Regions from separate parts of the Homo sapiens genome. Here region 2 is linked to region 1. The links are contacts of gene promoters, found by promoter capture Hi-C in blood cells and fetal thymus (Javierre and others, 2016). All regions are on one chromosome and are shown on one strand. Each heading gives the region's core, a stretch centred on a gene start or on the middle of the fragment in contact. The rest is flanking DNA. Distances are from core to core; before and after follow the strand shown. Region 1 holds the start of GNPDA2 (glucosamine-6-phosphate deaminase 2). Region 2 has its middle 3.7 kb from the start of DCUN1D4.

The links. Contacts are between HindIII fragments. The CHiCAGO score rates a contact against its expected background, and 5 or more counts as called.
Region 2: a fragment that was not itself captured here is called in contact with the fragment with the promoter of GNPDA2 in region 1 in 1 of 17 cell types (total B cells); the score reaches 5.0 in total B cells.

The regions. Positions count from the first base shown.
Region 1 is chr4:44,724,031-44,730,372 of GRCh38, reverse strand. It overlaps GNPDA2 (glucosamine-6-phosphate deaminase 2), which reads left to right and starts at 3,817. Exons shown (of 7, transcript NM_138335.3): 1 at 3,817-3,899. RefSeq lists an enhancer at 3,485-3,614 and a silencer at 4,107-4,401. The HindIII fragment of the contact is 3,169 bases long and covers 2,600-5,768 here.
Region 2 is chr4:51,836,250-51,842,591 of GRCh38, reverse strand. It overlaps a transcript of DCUN1D4 not described here. Among named protein-coding and RNA genes, the nearest start is that of DCUN1D4, 3.7 kb to the left of the region's middle. The HindIII fragment of the contact is 1,059 bases long and covers 2,171-3,229 here.

The DNA.
Region 1 (6,342 bases), core at 2,568-5,067:
AGTATACTGAAAGTCACTGAACTGTATACTTTAAAAGCCTGAGTTTATAGTATGTGAATTACATCTCGATGAAAATTATGTAATAGATAACCTGAATAATCCTGTATTTATTCAGGAAATTGGATTTATAGTTAAATTTTTTCAAAAAAGAAAACTCTATGTACGTACGGCTTCTCTAGTGAATTCTATCAAGTATTTAAAGAATACATTATGTTACTATAATTCAACACAAATTATTCCAAAACATTGAAGAGGGAAATTTTCCCACTCAATTTATAAGTTTGTTATTACTATGATACTAAAACTAGACAAAGACTTCACACACAAAAAAAAACTAATAAACAAAAAAACTATGGACTGATATCCCTCATACACATAGGTGTAAAATTTTTAAACAAAATTTTAGAACATTGAACCCAACAATAAATGTATAAGAAAGACCCTGACCAAGAAAAACAATGACCAAATCTAATTTTCTCCAGCAATAAAAGTGCACTCAACATTGAATTCACCAACATATTAGAGTGGAAAACCATACAACCATTTCAATAGATACATAGAAAGTGTTTGACAAAATTCAACATCCATTGTTGATTAATAAAACAACTATCAGCTATTAGTGAAATGCCTGATACCAAGGCTGGGTAGGAAAAATACAAGGTACACTCAGAGTCGTTCCGTGTTGGAGTCTTCATAACATACAGTCATGCATCACTTAATTATGGGGATACATTCTGAGAAATGCATCTTCAGACGATTTCATTATAGTGTGAATGTTATACAGTATATGCACACAAACCTAGCATATATACACAAACTACACATATATGGTATAGCCTATTGCTCCTAGACTACAAACCTGTACAGCATATTACTGAATACGGTAAGCAATGTAACACAATGGTATATATTTGCATATCTAAACAAAGAAAAGGTATAGTAAAAAAAAAAGTATAAAAATTAAAAAATATTAACAGTACACCTGTATAGGACATTTACCATGAAAGGAGCTTGCAGGACTGGAGGGTGCTCTGGGTAAGTCAGTGAATGAGTGGTGAGTGAATGTGAAGACCTAGGACATTACTGTACACTACTGTAGATTTTATAAACAATGTAGAGTTAGGCTACACTAAATTTATAAAACGATGTTTTTTTTCTTCAATAGTAAATTTAATTTCCTGTAGCTTTCTTACTTTATATTTAAATTTTTAAAAAACTTTTTGGCCGGGAGTGGTGGCTCACGCCTGTAATCCCAGCACTATAGGAGGCTGAGGAGGGGGGACCATGGGGTCCGGAGATCGAGACCATCCTGGCTAACACAGTGAAACCCCGTCTCTACTAAAAACACAAAAAATTAGCCGGGTGTGGTGGCATGCGCCTGTAGTCCCAGCTACTCGGGAGGCCGAGGCAGGAGAATTGCTTGAATCTGGGAGGTAGAGTTTGCAGTCAGCCAAGATTGCGACACTGCATTCCAGCCTGGACAACAGAGTGAGACTCTGTCTCAGAAAAAAAAAAAACTTTTTGACTCTAGTAACAACGTTAAGGTTAAAACACACATTGGAGAGCTGTCCAAAAATATTTTGTTTCTTTATATCCTTATTCTATAAGTTTTTTTATTTTAAAATCTATTTTTAATTTTTTTCCTATTCAAATTTTTTTGTTAAAATGAAGACACAAACACACATGTTAGCCTAGGCCTACACAAGGTCAGGATTATCAATCTCCCTGTCTTTCACTTTCACATCTTATCCCACTGGAAGTTCATCAGGGCAATAATGCACATGGAGCTCTCATCTATAATAACAATGCCTTCTTCTGGAATACCTCCTGAAAGACCTCCTTGAGGCTGTTTTATAGTTAACTTTTAAAAATATAAATAGGGCCAAGCATGGTGGCTCACGCCTATAATCCCAGCACTTTGGGAGGCCGAGGCAGGCAGATCACGAGGTCAGGAGTTCGAGACCAGCGTGGCTAATAAGTGAAACCCCGTCTCTACTAAAAATAAAACAAAATTAGACGGGCGTGGTGGCAGCTGCCTGTAATCCCAGCTACTCAGGAGGCTGAGGCAGGAGAATTGCTTGAACTCAGGAGGCAGAGGTTGCAGTGAGCCAAGATTGTGCCATTGCACTCCAGCCTGGGTGACAGTGCGAGACTCTGTCTCAAAAAAATAAACAAATAAATAAAAATAAAAATAGAAATAGAATGAATACACTCTAAAATAATGATAAAGAGTATAATATAGCAAATACATATACCAGTAACATAGTCATTTATTATCAAGTATTATATCCTGTACATAATTGTATGTGCTAGACTTTTATGAGACTGGAAGCACAGTAGGTTTACACCTATGTAGCCACAAACACGAGTGGTGTTGCTCTACAACTTTACGTTTACTACAATGTCGCTAGGTGATAGGAATTTTTCAGTTCTGTTATAATCTTATGGGACCATTGCCAAATATCCAGTCCATTCTTTACCTAAACTTCCTTATGTGGCACATATCTGTAATTCAAGACTGTAATTCAGTCTCCACCTTTCTACAGCATTCTTTCTAAAACACGTATGTTCTAGTCTCTTATCTTCAATTCATAAAGCTTAAGTGACTCCCTATTGCCTACAATACAAAGCCTAAATTCTATGCATAGCCTACAAACTACTTCATCATTTTACCTCAATCTTTTTTGGAGAGACAGGGTCTTGCTATGTTGCCCAGGCTGGTCTCCAACTCCTGGGTTCAAGCCATCCATGCACCATGACCTCTGAAAGTGCTGGGATTACAGGCGTGAGTCACCGAATCTGGCCAAAAATCGCTTTTGCAAACTTACTGAAGGCGATAGTACTAATAAACCTGTCTATTATCAGTATGTGAGCAATGTTGCTGTTTGAAGCTAAATCAACGAGAATGTAACATCCTACTCTTCACTAAAGGATGCAAGAGGAGTCATTACATTCAAAGAAGCAGGCTGGATTTACAACCCAGGTGAAAAACTTCATATAACGAGTTTGAGGACACAGCGTTTTACATTTTTTTAACTTGTAGTTTCCACAGAAACAGAACCTTAAGTTGGCTAGGAGTCAAGATTGTATTGTTCCTAACAGAACCCTAAACGGTGTTATTAATGGAACAGTGTTCCTGATGGAACATGGTGAAGACACAACACACTTTTCTCCTTTTGAATGATAGCTGCTTTCTTTACAATAATTTCCACAGCCCAATTCCTTCCCACTCCTGTATAAACATCTGTGATACCCAGCTCAAAGCTGATTCCAGCTTCCCCTATCCCTTTCTTAGACTCATTCAGCAAAAGCCAGTACCCTATTATATAGTGTTTTCTCTTACTGAGACGCTCCCGATTTCCCATGGTACTGTTTGCCCTTTTGCAAACTTTGATGAGTTTTTTGACACAAGACGCTTATCTGTCATTGCGTTTGCAAATATGCATTCAATAGCTTGGAGTAGAGAGAGAAATGTATTCATAAATGGCAAATATATTCATGTTGCCAAACAGCAACATAAGCAACAAAGTACGTGTGAGCACTACGGTCTTACATACTAAATCTCATAAGCCTAAAGAATCTACTGCAAATCCCTCTTTGAAAGATGGGGGGGAGGGGAAAGTAGCGTAAAGTGATGACCCAGAAACTGCGATCTTCCAGGCAAGAAGAGCGCCCAGCCGCACCGCACTCGGACCGAACTCCTCGCGTCTCACCTCAGGCGTCCTAAAGGCGGTGCGCATGCGCAGCGCCCGCCAGCCACGCCGCGGTTCCTTCCTGCGCCTTTATCTGCATCCGGGTCCGTGGGATTCGCGCTCCACTGGTCAGCTGGGGTCGCTCTCGGGTGGTTGGGTGTTGCTTGTTCCCGCTGTTCCAGCATCGAAGAACCATTGGGTCTGCCGGTAAGTTTAGCGGGGGGTGCGGCGGGGGCGCCAAGAAGGGGACTCGGGTCGGGGGACCCGACGGCAACTTCGCCCTGTGCGGCCTTTGTGCTGAGACTGGGACGCCGGGCCGGGGCGGAATGGGTGCTCAGGAACCTCGAGGCTGGGGGCGCGTGGGGTCTCCCGTATTGCCACTCGCGGACCTGGTTGTCCTCTCCGGATTTGTGCCTACGGGAGAAGGCGTCCCTGCCCTCTCCTCTCTCGCGGCTTCTTCTTGACACCTCTCTCTACACTCGTTAAAAATTCCTAACAGTCATCCTCATTTGCATTCGCTGTCCTTTGCCAAGTGAGGGCCAGGCAAACGCGCAGCTGAGGGGAATCTGCAGCCCCCGCCTCCCGGGCAGGAACCACAGCCTTCTTTGCTGTCTCTCGTCCCTCCTCGGGTCGGTCCCACACGCGCGGCCAGGCCACCCTTACGCTTTCAGGACAGGTCAGGTTGAGTAGGGAAAAGCTCAGAGCAGAGGTTCTGCAAGTGTAGATTCTGGTCTTGGCCCCGCCATTAACTAGCTGTGTAACTTCACGGGTGTAGAAGTTGTCATCCACCATTGAAGTTTTGCGATTTATATTCAGCAGCCCTTTTTCCTAGCGATGCACATCCAAAATGAATCAGCACCTGAAGGAAGACGAGGGAAAGGGTGGTGCTCTGTTGTTTTTTGATGCTGTCTTGTGATGCCAGAGAATTGCATAAGGCGACAATAGTTTGGATCTCTGAGGATTGGCAAAAACTGGAAAAGTCAAATCTTAAAAACTTAAATGTGGTGAAGAAATTCTTCTTTGCTCTGGGTGAAGGGATTCATTTGGGACTTTTGGAGGTGACTCTGCGCCCTCCAGAGAGTTTAAGAAAACAAAAAGTTGCCTGTACCTTGGTCTGAGAGACTTGCTTAAACTTCGTTTCAGTGAGATGTGTGGTGTTCTTAACAAATTTCACCTGATTATGAATATCCCCTGTGATAATTTGCAAAAGCAGAGATTCCTTGGACTTCATTTCAGATCTTTTGAAACACTGTGTCTAGGGAGAGGGACCTGAGAATCTGTATTTTTAACTAGCATCGTAAGTGATTCTCAACCGGTAAGACATCTTTGGCTAATGTCTCTTTGAGTCAGAAACACTTAGTTTTAAAGCCAGCTCCCCGGGCCACTTTTTAACGTCAGCAATAAACTTCTCGTAGTTGCAGTTTTCTGTATATGAAGAGTGAGAATAATGCTTTCAACCTCAGAGACAAGTGATTCTAAGCCCTTTGACAATAGAGTTAATCATTTTTGTGTCTACAGAACCTAGCATAGTGCTTAGAATATAATAGGTCTTCAAACGTGTGTTGAACTGAGAAAAATAACATGCCCAGGATGCAGAAGACATTGGAAAGCTCTAATGCTTCTCGTCCTCCTTACCTTATTTTTTTTCCGTTTTATTAACAATCAGCTGGCCATATATTCTTGTTAGAAGTAAATATATCTTTTGATGTTCATTACAGCCAATAATTCTTTCTGATTCTTTGGTTTAACTCTAAAATTGTTTTTGACATTAGATTATGGATTATATTTAAGTGGAGGCTGAGTCCAGTTGTTGGACTGAATTTATGACTTACTATGTAATTTATTTTCTGTAAATAAATAATTGTTATCGGGCCAGAATTCTAGATCATGGTGACCATGATTTTTTGTTGTTGTGTCAGAATTCGAAACTGTTACCTTCTTAAAGACATTTAGATTCCATACATTTATTTTAATAAGACCTTTTAATCTCATTAATTTAGAAAATTTGACTTATTACTCTATGTAAAGTGTGTGGGTACAAAACTCAGGAATGCTGAAACCATGTTATAAAAAGCTTGGTATTGGTGACTGATCCATTTAATATAAAAATAAGAATTAAAAATCTAAGAATTATGGGAATTATTACAGAATGTTCAGTAAATGTTATAAGGGGACGTTTATAAACTATTGATGGTAATGTCAGTTCAACTTCTGTAGAAAAAAGTATGAAGATTTCTCAAAGAACTGAAAATAGAACTACCATTTGATCAGGCAATCTCACTACTGGGTATCTACCCGAAGGAAAATAATTCATTATATCAAAAAGATACCCGCATTCATTTTTATCTCAGCACTATTCACAGTGAGGCAGTAGAATAGGGTCTGGAGGCAGAGGACTTAAGGCCAATTCGTGCTGACTTCCTAAAGCTAAATCAAAGGAAAACACCAAGGTCTGGGGGCAGGAAATCTAAGGCCAATTTGTGCTGACTTCCTAAAAGAGAAAACACCTGCGTCTGGGGGCAGGTAACCTAAAGCCAGTTAACCAATTAACGCAAACTTCCTAAAGCTAGACCAAAAGGAAAAAACCCATCTCCCCATGCCCAAGTAGCAAAGGACCAAAGGCTACTCTCCCTACGATCGACTGCCTTCC
Region 2 (6,342 bases), core at 1,451-3,950, 7.1 Mb before region 1:
TCTCTTGTCAGCTGCTTCCTACCGCAGGAAACTGGATTAAGAATTGCCGCGTCTTAATTTCCAGCAAACCTTCTGGTGGGGAGCAAATTTCCATTTCTCCTACGAAGATCCATCCTCTCCCCACTTTCGAAATGTACTTCTTTTCCAGAGTCCGCATACTTGTTTCGCAGAGTTCGCACACTTCTTTCCTCTAGTCACTAATGTCTGTTAAAGAGGCTTCGAATGCCACGAGCATTGTCCGTCACACACATCTGTATGCCCCAGACATCAGACAGAAATACAGGGCCGCGCTCTGAGCTGCGGACTGAGCCTAACACATGGACGAGTCCAGGGGGCAGACCACCAGCCCGTGAAAGACCCCCGGCGGCATCTAAGAAAACCTGTCACTCCCGCGGAGAGGCCGTCCAGAAATTGAAACTGGCTGTTATTTGGCAGAGGGAGACGTTAATTTTGGTGAATTCTTCTGACCCTAAGTCAAGAATTCGCACCATTTCCATGAGTCCTGCCCTGATTTTTCAATACTTGAAGCTAACTTATCACACCGCATTATGGTAACAGAACAATATTTCGAGATATTAACGGAGGATTCCCCCCACCCCAACCCACCCCCACCCTACCCTGCCTCCACCCTCATCCCAGCCACCAACTCCAACAACAACACACCTACAAGGCATCCCCATATCCTAAGGCCCTGGGCCATCTGGGAGCCTCAAAGAGTAGGTGACACCACAAATCACAGGTAACAGAACGCACGGTCTTTTTGGTTTTAGATTTCTACAGCCCAGGCTTTTGGGTTTCCAGGCTCTGAAATTTAGATTTTAAATCAGGACACAAATGTTATGCTATTTGGAAGGGGCTCAGACAAACCAGTTTCTGTGTCCCACAGCACTCCCATGGTAAAATGCTCCCTCCATCTTAATCGCTAATTTCTCTTTAATAAATTACATCCTTATAATACTATTTATATAATATTTTTATCATTCAAACATTTATGAATCACTTTATGGAATCTCAGAACTGTACCTGAAGTTATTTATTATTTGCTTCAGGTTCTTTCGCAAGACAAGAATCTCTCATAGAACATCCTTATTGATCACCTTTATCATGACAGTACCTCAGCGGGGCCCCACAGTGATGGGTAGGTACCTCTGGACTCTGAGATAGGGGATTGCTTGTTGGGCAGATCTAGCAGTAAGAATATCCGCCCTTACTCTGAGCAGGGAAGCTGCTCCTGCATTCTTTATTCTATTTATGTTTCAGCTTAATCTACATCTAGGAAATAATAAATTATATGTCATTTAATACAAGTTTCAAATCTTTTGTGTGTGTAATATTTATGATTTTTTTTTTTACCGTTTACCATGGTACTTCAAAGACTGAGACACATGTTATTTTGCACAGAAAAGGGCTTCCTTCGTGACACCTCTAAATTACAATAAGCCCACAATTAATTATAGCTAGTCATTTGCTCTATTAATTTATTTGCAGCATACTTTATAATAATGTGTATAAGAGTTAAGCTAGATGAAGGATGGGTCGGCTGCTTTGCCCCAGCTCCCAACACTGGCCTGGCATATGCATGGTGTCCATAAAAATTTATAGAATGTACAACCTCTGTTATTTCTCAACATTGCTTTCAGTTGAGTCAGTATGATTATTTTCAAGTAGAAAACAGACTTAGAGGTAATTTACCCAGATCTTTATAAAGAGTCAGCTATAGCCTAAGGATTGAGAGGCAAAGCTCATTCCTAGTCGGCTGACCCTCACTGCCCCCACGTTTTACAAAGTATAATAAAATGACTACATAATGCTCTGCAAATATTACCTGGTCATTTAAATAATCCACACCATATAAACCTCTGATATCAGGAAACTTGTTATAGTTATCTTTTTACTTGCCTAGCACCTAGTACAATGCTTTCAAATATTGTGGTAGGCACTGGTTAACCATACCCCTTAAAATGAATGTTTACCGTACATGAAATTTTAGATCTGGATAGGAACCTTGGTGATTATCAAATCCAACATCTTCATTTTAAAAATAAGAGACTTGACATCCAAAGGAGTTAAATGTTTAATCTGAGTCACTTGGCTAGTTGATAACAAAACAGGGCTTAAATTCAGGTTTCTCAACTCTATCCCCTGTACCACACTGTCTAATATCAAAGCTTCAAATTCCAAAGATAGGTAAACTACTCTCCCTTCCCATCTGAAAGTTACTATGCCAATCTAATACAAGTCTGCTTCATGGTTGAAATGTTGCCTTCTTTTTTATGTATTTCATTCAGGATTTTTTTCAATATGTAAATCAATACTTCACTTTTTTTTTTCTCATTTGTAGTATTCCCAAAGAACATGATCCCCATGGAGAGGTTTACTGAGATAATAATGTTATACTTCTGTACATTTATATTTGAATCCCTGGAGAAAAAAATTAATAATTGAATATCTTGGGACTGTGATGGGTAGAGATATTTGGAGATGCAGTCTTTATGCCATTTCATTTCACCCAGTTACTGCTTTAAGGTAATATTGAAGCAAGTTACTCCATGTTAATGATACCTAATTTAATTGGAATTTTTCTATTTTATTAGTCATACAATATTAATTTTAATCAGATATATTTTGAAATGCCCTAAGCCTAGATTAGAATGTGATATGGAGAAGTCTAGTAAGAGAAAAAAAACAGCAGAGCTCTTCAATCAAATGTTACGCTTTCCCCTAAATTCTGCTAAGCCCACTGTAGCATGCTTTTCCTGCATGTGTTGGGATTGGGAGTAGGAGGAAGAATAGCATAGTTCTTGAGACTGAAAATAAGTTGGGCCTGCACAGACAGATAAATGTGTCCCTGGTAAGATTTAAAGAGAATAAGAAAGAACACAGGACAGAGAGGAATTAATTTGGCCTTAGATTACAGTGAGAGAGTTGGCAGAACTCCTTTAGTAATAAAATGTCAGGCTAGGTGGGTTTCTAGTATTTGGAAATGAAAATAAACCCCCTCCGAAAGGAGAATTTATCCATAGAGGGCAGGATAGTTTTCTTTCTCCAAATATGACCAACTGAATTTGCTGTCCCAAGTGATAACAACTTCTTTCTTAATGCTTCCTATGTGACGGGCACTACTCTAATAGTACTGTACTGGTAAACTAATCTACTTAACTTCACAACAACACAGTGGAGTACTAATAACTAATAGTATCCCCAATCTACAGGTAAGTTAACTGAAGCTTCAAGAGCTTCGGTAACTTGCCACCCAGCTAATAAGTAAACGTGCCCCTAAGTAGCCAGACTCCATGTTTTTAATATTCCTGTGTTGGGCTTTAGTTTCTTTCTTTCTTTCTTCCTTTCCTTCTTTTCTTTCTTTCTTTCTTTCCTTCCCTCCTTCCTTCCTTCCTTCCTTCCTTCTCCTTTCTTCCTTCCTTCCTTCTCCTTCCTTCCTTCCTTCCTTCCCTCCCTCATTCCCTCCTTCTCTCCTTCCCTTCTTCCTTCCTTTTCTCTCTCTCTCTCTGTCTCTTTTGAGACGGAGTCTCACTCTGTCGCCCAGGCTGGAGTGCAGTGGTGGGATCTCCATTCACGGCAACCTCTGCCTCCTGGGTTCAAGTGATTCTCCTGCCTCAGCCTCTCAAGTAGCTGGGATTACAGGCACACGCCACCACACCCGACTAATTGTTGTGTTTTTAGTAGAGACGGGGTTTTGCCATGTTGGCCAGGATGGTCTCAAACTCCTGACCTCAGGTGATCTGCCCGCCTCAGTTCCCAAAGTGCTGAGATTACAGGCATGAGCCACCGCACCTGGCCAGTTCCTTCTCTTTTTAATCAGGTTAATATATGCCCCTATATACCTCAGAGATTATTTATAAGGATACAATAATATGGTTGTTAACATGCTCTCAAAAGATAGTGAAATCAGGCTGGGCATGGTGGCTCATGCCTGAAACCCCAGCACTTTCGGAGGCTGAGGTGGGTGGATCACTTGAGCCCAAGAGTTTGATACCAGTCTGGGCCAACACAGGGAGACCCTATCTCTACAAAAAAATGCAAAATTATCTGGGTGTGGTGGCAGCTGCCTGTAATCCTAGCTACTCAGGTGGCTGAGGTGGGAGGATCCCTTGAGCCCTATGGGTGGAGGCTGCAGTGAGCTGAGATCACGCCACTGCACTCCAGCCTTGGTGACAGAATGAGACCCTGCCTCAAATAAATAAATAAATAAATAAAGTGAAACCAGGCCTCTTTTTAGGGATGAACATCTAGCCACTCAGGCTCCTTTTATAGATCTATATAATGAAAAGTATGGGTCAGAAGGATTACATCCAGGTTACTAAATTCTTATTTATTTTACCCTTTTGACCTTATCCCCACAGCAAATGAGATTATTTATTCAGAGTGTCTAATGAAGCTCTGCTGAATGTTATAAATTCTCGACTTCGATATATCACTGAGAACCCAGGCTGGAGTGCAGTGGCATGATCTTGGCTCACTGCAATCTCCATCTCCTGAGTTCAAGTGATTCTTGTGGCTCATCGTGTAGCTGGGACTACATGCGTGTGCCACCATGCCCGGCTAATTTTGTATTTTTAGTAGAGACAGGTTTTCACCATGTTGGTCAGGCTGGTCTCTAACTCCTGACTTCAAGTGATCTGCCCGCCTCAAGCCTCTCAAAGTGCTGGGATTGCAGGTATGAGCAATAGTGCCTGGCCCTATACTTTTAAATTTTCTAGAAAATCCTGATATCTTTCCTCATGAAGGAGCCATCTTAGAAATCTCTCAGAAAAGCTAAGAATTTTCCAATTATATTTGACATCTGTGTTTCAGTTTTAATTTCGTTTAGCAATGATTTTTTTTTGCCTCTCCTGGATATAGAGAAAATATCATTTATTTGTAAATTATTTCTAACTTCTAAGATTTCTTTTTTTTTTTTTTTTTTTTTTTTTTTTTTTGAGACGGAGTCTCGTTCTGTCGCCCAGGCGGGAGTGCTGTGGCGCGATCTCCGCTCACTGCAAGCTCCGCCTTCCGGGTTCACGCCATTCTCCTGCCTCAGCCTCCCGAGTAGTTGGGACTACAGGCGCCCGCCACTGCGCCCGGCTAATTCTTTGTATTTTTAGTAGAGACGGGGTTTCACCGTGGTCTCGATCTCCTGACCTCGTGATCCGCCCGCCTCGGCCTCCCAAAGTGCTGGGATTACAGGCGTGAGCCACCGCGCCCGGCCTAAGATTTCTTAACACATCACTATCAGGGTAGCATTAGCAAGTCTTTTTGCTAATATTTTATTCCAGTACAGCCATAGAATTCTTAAACTGACTCTTTTCCTTTTTACTCAGGACCTTTTATTTTATGGAAATCACACCTGCCTAGGGAATTAACAAAGTATTTGAATAAAAATGTATTCATTCATTACCACATGTTCTTCTCTGAATTGAGTACTTTCACCTTATTCTGCATTGAGCTAATCAAGTCCTAATGATGCTGCATTAAATTTGATCTCAGAAGGTGCAATTTTCCAACTGAGTCTAAACAATGCATGACCTTTATGGTGTTTTTCATAAATATAGCATTGTTTCAATTACTCCAGCTAGCAGGGGCTGGACAGAAAGAATAATCATTTTATTTGGATAATGGCTTCTGTGTATTGTCAGGCTCTTAATTTCTCCTTGCCTTCTCTAGCCTGCTACCATGAATACAGTGTCTTTCTAACATCCCTCTCAGGGCAGTACAGGAGACCCCATCCATCTCCGGTTGTTGGTGGCTGCATGGCAGCTGAGCATCTCATTATGGCAAAGTGAAGCATTCTGGGAGAGTGGATGGGGAAGGCAGACAGCAATAGGAAATGGGGGAGGGAAGAGGAGGATGGGAGCTGTGGAAAATATGTGCTCACTTCCTTGGTGATGATAATGTGTTATGGAAGTAAGAACTTCCTGTCCTAGTGGGGAAGAGCATGAAGTATGTCAAAAACCCATGATTAAGCAGATTCCAGACCCTACAACCGGGTTACAGCCGCCTCAGCCACCCCGTTCTGCCCAACACTCAGATCTGAACCCCCAGTTGAATCTACCACAGGGGCTATGTTGGTGGGAGGAAAGCAATGAATCCAAGCACTGAAGAAAAATCTATGGTTCCAAAATTGAAAAAGAAATAAATTTGGACACACACACATATGTTCATCTGCAGGCACGCACACAAACACATGCAAACCACTAGCTTACCCCATTGAAAAATATTTATTTCCAACTAACCCGAATGCTTACATTTTACTTTGTTACACTGCCTCAGCTAAGACAGGTTAAAGCAAATGGTCCTTAACATTTTAGGGGTCACAGACCCCTTTTACTAATCATTCACAGTGAT